Linked DNA regions of Homo sapiens: region 2 is linked to region 1. The links are contacts of gene promoters, found by promoter capture Hi-C in human tissues and cell types (Jung and others, 2019). All regions are on one chromosome and are shown on one strand. Each heading gives the region's core, a stretch centred on a gene start or on the middle of the fragment in contact. The rest is flanking DNA. Distances are from core to core; before and after follow the strand shown.

Evidence for each region. The method cuts DNA at HindIII sites, captures the fragments that hold promoters and counts their contacts. A contact is called where the count stands out against the background at its distance.
Region 2: a fragment that was not itself captured here is called in contact with the fragment with the promoter of AGAP1 in region 1 in 1 of the 25 tissues and cell types used here (dorsolateral prefrontal cortex).

Annotation. Positions count from the first base shown.
Region 1 is chr2:235,492,037-235,495,801 of GRCh38, forward strand. It overlaps AGAP1 (ArfGAP with GTPase domain, ankyrin repeat and PH domain 1), which reads left to right and starts at 2,007. Exons shown (of 18, transcript NM_001037131.3): 1 at 2,007-2,813. The coding sequence starts at 2,651. RefSeq lists an enhancer at 3,261-3,765. The HindIII fragment of the contact is 11,360 bases long and covers 1-3,765 here.
Region 2 is chr2:234,955,383-234,959,147 of GRCh38, forward strand. All of the region lies in intron 1 of SH3BP4 (SH3 domain binding protein 4), which reads left to right. Among named protein-coding and RNA genes, the nearest start is that of SH3BP4, 5.2 kb to the left of the region's middle. The HindIII fragment of the contact is 3,697 bases long and covers 1-3,458 here.

The sequences.
Region 1 (3,765 bases), core at 757-3,256:
CATGAATTGTGGCAGGCTAACTTGTTAGCTTACAAGTAGGGGAATAGCTCAGCCCCTGAGCAGCTCTTGATAAGAGCTCATGCCTGTGGGGCGAGGCCAGATGGGAGTCATTGGAGGGTTTTGAGAAAAGGCATGACAAGTCCGGACGTAGGTTTTGTAAGTTTCACCAGGTAGGAAGCAGTGAGCTATTACAATTGTTAGATCTAGTGATGGTCCAGCTAGATGATCCTGACTTCAGCCGAGTGGTGAGAAGTCGTGGGATTCTGGATCCTCTGAAGGTGGAGCTGACACCATTTGGGATATGAGAGAATGATAAGCAAAAAGGACAGCACTGAATTTTTCGCCTAAGCAAATGGTGGCCTGGAGTTGCCGATGACTGGGATGGAGAAGATTTTTAGGAGATGTAGCCGGAAGGGATGGCAGGAGTTCAGCTGGCGACATGCTGGACTTAAACACCAGCTAGGCTTCAGGAAATGTTGAGGATGCAGGTGGATGTGAATTTGTTATTCAGGGGTGAGGTCACAGCTGGAGATACATATGAGCTTCATTAACCTGTGTATGATATTCAAAGCCATAAGACAGGGGCGATCACAGCAAATAGCAAAGAAAAGAGGCCTAACCATAAGCCCTGGGGCCCTCCATATTTAGAGGTTAGGGGAGTAGAAGAAAACCACAAAAGGGACAGTGAAGCCAGAAACACAGCAGGAAGCCCTGGTGAGCACTGGGAGAAGGGGTTTCCAGGAGCGCAAGTGATCAGCTGCTGCTGATAGGTCAGGTTTGGTGAGGCCACATGCCTGCCTCTTGGTTACTAGAGTTACTTATGCGTGGACAGCCCGAGGCATGGAGTGATGACCTGTGCCTAAGTGTCAAGGAGAAGACAAGCAGGTCCGGAATGGTAAAAATGTCAGCACATCTTTGGGAAGTTGTGGAGCCCAGCCAGTAAGCCAACACGGCTGGATACCAGGGTGCTTAGGCCATAGCAAACTGCATGTGAGCCGGTGAAGGCTCAGCAGGCTTTAAACGGGGATGCCGGCCCGGCTGGCTGAGTTTCAGAAAGACCACGCCGATGGCTGGGGGCAGGGACTCAGCCAGTGTCCTCAATCCAGGACCTTGTGGGACCGCCCGGCAGCCAGTGCTTCCGCAAATCTGAAGGGTCCCATTTGCCTCAAAGCGGCGAGACGAGCCTTCCAAGCGCTGCTGCAGTGCGGTCCCAGCTCCGCGGGGGGTCCCCGGGGATGACCTAAATCGGGGATTGCGGTGGGACAGACGGTCCAGGGGCTAAGGAACCCCGTGGAGCAGGCAGCGGCGCTCAGGAGGCAGCAGCTTGAGATCCACGGCTCGATTTTTAAAAATTGTAAGGGAGAAGGATGCCTCGAAAGCCTCTGTGGTATTTTGTCGCATCTCGCACCCCTGTCTAAACTTCAGTCCACTCGTGGAGTGTGGACCCCCACGCCGCATGGGCTCAGGAGGCGCTTCGCCTTTGGAAAGAAATCGCATGTATTAAGGGAAAGCACGTGTGCTACTTTGAGAAAGGAGGCAGAAAGTTACCAAACGCGGGAAGGGGAGGCTCGCCAACCAAGCGAGGCCGTGGGACACTGGCGAGTCGCAGAGGCTCCTGGAGCCAGCCGCTTGGAAACAAACAACAACGCGGCGGGCGAACTCCCGGGCAGCCTCCCCCGTGCCGGGGCGCGGGGGCCGCCGCGAGAACCCGGGCAGGAGCTGGCAGGCGCGGGGCCTGGCCGGCGGGAGGGTCCCGCACCCCGGCCCAGTGTGAACACCCCGCGCACCCCCCTGGCCCGGCCCGCCGGGGGCGCGGACTACAAGTCCCAGGAAGCCCAGAGGCAGGCGCGGGGCGGGGCCTGGCGCAATTCCCCGGGATCCGGCGCGCTGGGAAGCGCCGAGGAGGACGCAGCGCCGGCGGCCGGAGGGCGGCAAGCGCGCGGGCAGGCGGGGCGCGGGCGCGGGCGCGGGCGAGGGCGAAGGCGGGGGCGGGGCCGACGTGGGCCGGAGCCCTGCGTGCCAGGGAGGGGGCCGGCCGGGCAGGCGGCGGGCGGCGCTCGGAGCGGGCTCCGCGGCTTGCAAGGCGCCTGCGACTCGGTCCCAGGTCGGCGGGCGGCGCACGGCGGGCTCGCGCGGGGGCCCCGGCGCGCCGGGCGGCGCAGTACGCAGCGCGCGGACCCACGCCACGGCCAGGAGCCCAGAGCAGCGCGGCCACACTGCCCAGGGGTCGGCCCTCGGCCCCGGCGCTCGGAGCGCGGCGGCTGCCTGGGCTTTAATGGCTGCTCCGCGGAGCAGCGCCTAGGGCTGGAAGGCGGCTGCGGCTCAGGAAGTCACCCGAGCAAGCCTCCTTCGGGGCCGGCCGCACCCGCCGCGGCGCGCTCCATGGGGGCGCGCTCCCCCCGGGCGGCCCGCTGACCCGGGACGCCGGGGCCCGCTCGCTCGCCGGCCGCGCGTCCCGGCCATGAACTGAGCCCGCGGGCCAGCCCCGCGCCTGCTCCGCCCGCGCCTTTCTTCTCGCGCCTCCTCCGCCCGCCGCCGGCGGGCCCGGCTCCCCGGGGGCTGCGGCGCCCCGGGCTCGGCGGCCCGCGGGCCCCGGGGCGCGGGGCGGCGGCGGCGGGGGGCGCGCGGCTCCGGGCGCGGCGCCTGCACCATGAACTACCAGCAGCAGCTGGCCAACTCGGCTGCCATCCGGGCCGAGATCCAGCGCTTCGAGTCGGTCCACCCCAACATCTACTCCATCTACGAGCTGCTGGAGCGCGTGGAGGAGCCGGTGCTGCAGAACCAGATCCGGGAGCACGTCATCGCCATCGAAGGTGAGGGCCGGGCCGCCTTGGGGCCTCGGGAAGGCACGGACGCCCGCGGCGCGGCGGGGGTGTGCGCTGTGTGCGTGCGGGTGTCCACACACGCCGGCCGGGGCACGCGGCTGCTCCGCCGAGGGAGCACTGCGGCGCTGCTTGTCTTGCAAGGCCGGGCGAGCGTCGCCTGCGCCCCGCCGCGCCGCGAGCTCCGCCAGGAAGATAGATCGTCAGCGTTAATTTGATCGTGGACAATAGAGTCTCTCCTGCGGGAAAGTGGCTCGGTGCCTCCGCGTCCTGGGCTGCCGGAGCGTCCCGGCCCAGCAGACGCCTGGGGGCAGCCGGCGGGGTCGGCGCCACCCGACCCCTGACAGGTTACCAGGCCAGGCCTGGGCGTCTTGCTGGACGTTGAAGACGTGTTCTGAGAAGTGCTGCCGCTGGGGGCGAGGCCCGGGCCGGCGTGTTTGGGCGGTGCAGGGCTGCCCTCCTTAGTGTGTTTGCTTAATTCAGGGGTGCAGTTGAACTTAGTGGATGCCGAGAGCCAGCCCTAGCCGCGGGAGCATCGTGTCCAGGTGCCCCTGTGCAAACGCTGGAACCGGTAGTGTGCTTTGTACCAACCAAAAGTCCGGGGTTGGATTAGAGGAAGAACCCTACCAGGAGGGCAGGGCGTCCTCCAGCGGAAGGGTCTCGCTTTCATATGTCTGCAGTTGGAGGCCACTGAAGTGGAGGGTGCTGTGGTTTTAAGAGGGGCAGGATGCTTGGGCAGAATCCCCACCCGCTTCCCTCTGCATGTCAGGCAGGGCCATGGCCTTCCAGGAGAGCTACAGCAGCAGTCTGCCTTCCGGGGCTGTGCCCTCTGGATTTCTGGTGGCTCTCATTTCTCTGTTTCCAGGCTGCTGATTTATTTTCTTGCTTCATCCCTTTGGTCCGGCCAAGACTCACCTGGGGCACCAGGTGGCATGTGCGTGGA
Region 2 (3,765 bases), core at 360-2,859, 540 kb before region 1:
TTCATCTAGCCCCCAAATACCCAGGGAACAATCCAGCTACTTGATTCAGTATCCTCCAGGAAGCCGAAACCAGCTCCTCGGTGGGCCCTGAGGGCGTCCACGTGTTACATAACCCAGCACCTGATCCCACCGTGACCTCGCTAAAGGGAAAAAGTCTCAATAATCAGTCTTCAGAGGGCGAGGGAGTGCAGAATATGCTTTAGAAAGAGGCTGTGTGCCGTGTTTTAAGAAGGGTAAAATCCCATGTAGAACATCACAGCCTCCCATCTTCCAGGTGAACAGTGCCTCCTGAAGTCATCAGGAAGCATATGGATTTGAGGAAGTAGAATTGCTGTATGGAATTCCTCTAATTTAAGGTTTGGGGTATTTTGAGGGATGGAAATAGGTACCACTCGTTGAGGGCTTACCATATGCTAGGCTGCATGTGTGCCCTTTTGAATCCTCACGAAAACTACCAGGGGTTTCATTTTACAGGGAAGCTACGAGAATTTAAGAAACTCCTCCAACCTTAGACTTTAATGAGTGCTTGAGTTGGGATTTGAACCTGGATCTGTCCAAGTCCAGAGCTCGTCATCACATCTCCCGGGGTGCTGAAATTAAAGAAACAAACGGCTCTCAGTCACACATTGGAGCCTGAAGATACAGGCATGCAAATAGCGGAGTGCCAGCCTCCCTCACACAATTAGAAAATAGCTTGTACTCTGAAGGTGATGAAATCTTTAAAACATGTGACGCTTTCTCAGCCTAAATGGAAGGCAGCCATTTTGCACCTTTGTTCGTGAAACCCTCACCCCGTCACCAGGGCGAAGCAAGGTTTATTTGGAAGATTGTGACTTTGAAGTTGGGATAACCCAGGATTTGGTACGATGTCTTTCCTTGTCCCGTGAAAAGAGGGTGTTTGGGCACATGGGGTCACTAGAATGAGATTAAGATTATAGGAAGGCGGTTAAGTAAATGTACAATAAGGGTTCCACCTTCCTCTTTACAATCAAATAAATGACATACTAATGAGATTATTCTTATCTGCGCAATAAAAGCTTATCTCAGGGGAGCTCTCTTTGCTGAAGCCTGTTAGCCCAACTCTTCTGTAGAGATTGAGAAGAATACTTCCTTTGAAAGGATTTTATGGTTCCAAGTTTTTATTAAATCTGCATAACTGAGGACAACCCTGCCTCTTTTTTTTTTTTTTTTGAGTTGAGATTTCTCTGTTGCCCAGGCTGGAGTGCAGTGGCTCAATCATAGCTCACTGCAGCCTTCAACTCCTGGGCTCAAGCAATCCTTCTTCCTCAGCCTCCTGAGTAGCTGGAACTACAGGTGCACACCAGCACGCCCGGGTAGTTTTTTTTTTTAAATTCTTGTAGAAATGGGGTTTCGCTATGTTGTCCAGGCTGGTCTTGAACTCCTGGTTTCAAGTGATCCTCCAGCCTTGGTCTCCCAAAGCACTGGGCTTACAGGTGTGAGGTATGTTGCCCTGCCCTTGCCCCATTTTTATGAGCAGGCAGGAAGCTTTTCTAGCCCCTCCAATGTAGGAGGTCCCTGAGCTCATAGTGTGCCGGTAAACCTGCTCTCTGAGGAGAAAGCAGAGCTTCGATTGCAGTATCTGCCAATTTCTGTGACGTAAATATTCCCACCATGGCTAATTTCTTTTTCTTTTTTTTGAGTCTCACTCTGTCACCCAGGCTGGCTGGAGTGCAGTGGTGCAATCTCGGCTCACTGCAACCTCCACCTCCCAGATTCAAGCTGTTCTCCTACCTCAGCCTCCTGAGTAGCTGGGACAACAGGCATGTGCCACCACGCCCAGAAGTTTTTGTATTTTTAGTAGAGACCGGCTTCCCCATGTTGGCTAGGCTGGTCTTGAACTCCTGACCTCAGGTGAACGGCCCAGCTTGGCCTCCCAAAGTGCTGGGATTACAGATGCAAGCCACCATGCCCAGCCTGATTTCAAACTGCCAGTTTGGGCTGGGAACATTACTAAATAGTTAACAATCTGTGTGAGCCAAGAAGAGCTGGGTCCTGCTCACCATTCATTGCACTGAGCCCACCCACACGACACCCCTGCTTCCCCTTCCGTCACCCCCATCACTTTAATGGAAGAAATTGTGGCCTCACTTCTGCTTGGTCCATGTCTGCCTAGGAGCAGTACTGAAAAAGGATTTGGGTACTACTGAGTAACCGAATTTGGCCAGCAAGAGTAGAAGGCTTCAAAACTCAGGCTGCATTTTAAAATCACCCGGGAGCTTAAAAAAACAACAATCCATGTTCCAGGCCCATCCCCAGTTGAATCAGAATGTCTGGGTGTGGGTCCAGACCTCTGTAGATTTGGAAAGCTTCCCGGGTGACTGTAATGTATATCCACGTTGAACACCAGGGATGTGGTGATGAATTTGTTCAAGAAGAAAGCTGAGGGGGTGCAGTTTGGGGCAGGGCGTGGCAGACCCTGTGTATTTGAGCCCAAGGAGGTGAGATCTCCCTTGCAGAGCAGGGAATGTTTTTCCTTAAGGCCTCGTAGAGGGTGAGGAAGTGCTGGGCTAGGAGAGGCAGGCGGAGCCCATCTTCCCCCCAACAGGTCTGTCCTCCTCCAGGGGCACGTGTCCTACACTGATGAGGTCCACATACTTGTTTGGCTTTGGTTGCTTCTGCTGGTCTAGAAAGGAAAAGAGTCTTCCTTCCAGGAAGTCAGGGGGTCAGGATGAAGCCAGGCAGACCCCCTGGGTGGGTGTGATGAGCTGTTCTCAGATATTAAAGCAGAGGGGCTTACTGGGACCACCCAGATGAAGGAAAGAGAAACCCTACCGCCCAAGGACCATAGCTGAACACTTTGTAAGAGTCCTTGAGCTTGGGTGCGCACATAAGCTGATTATTTTTTCTCCATCATAATTACCAGTAAAATTATTTTAAAATGTGAGAGCTTTCCTTGGAGGCAGTAAGCATGTGGGAGGGAAAAGTCATTCAACTTCAGAGCCAGCCATGGTGAGCGGGGCTGGGACTGGGGAGAGGCACACGAGGCCCCTGGGGTGCAGGATTCAAGGAGGTGCTCGCCCTGGGGGGGTGTCTGGGGAAGGGTCTGTCCTGCTGGCCAGAGGAGGGCTGTTTGAGAGAGGGCGGTCCTGGGCTCACTTCCTTAGAGTTGGGCAGTGAGTGTGGAAGAGCTCATACATGGGAACCTAGAGTGAAGAGCAGGGGCCAGGATCACACTGCTGGATCACCCCCAGAAGGGGCAGGAAGGCTAAGGGGGAGCCAGTGGAGGAGCAGCTGGGATGGGAGAACAAGTGCCCTGCGGGGCCCTGAAGTCAAGGAGGAGAAAGATGGGGGTAGGGGGAGAGGGGGTTGAGAGCTCAAAGCAGACGGGACAGTTCTGAGTCTATCATGTGCGGAGGATTTATGAACGGGAGGACTGGAACCCTGTCACTGTGGTAGTGGAGAAACTCCTATAATAGAAGAAATAGCACAGAGTGGAGGCCACGCAGAAGAATGTTGGTGATAAAAGAAATTGGACCGTATTTGATGGTGTGGAGACAGGGCAGGAGGGAGCCAGGGTTGGGTCAGAGGGACTGGGATTCTAGCAGGGGCGGAAAATTCTCCTTGGGGTACCCGTGCGGTGGGGAGTGGCCGCAGATGCTGAGAGGGAAGCATTGGGTGTGAATAGCTGATCACCAGGAGCAGCTGGTTAAAAGACCTTCCCCAAATGCTTTCTCAGATCATAACATCTGCAACTTTTTCCCACTAGCCTTTGTGGAGGGCTGGCTGGGGGGCCCATTTGTCCTT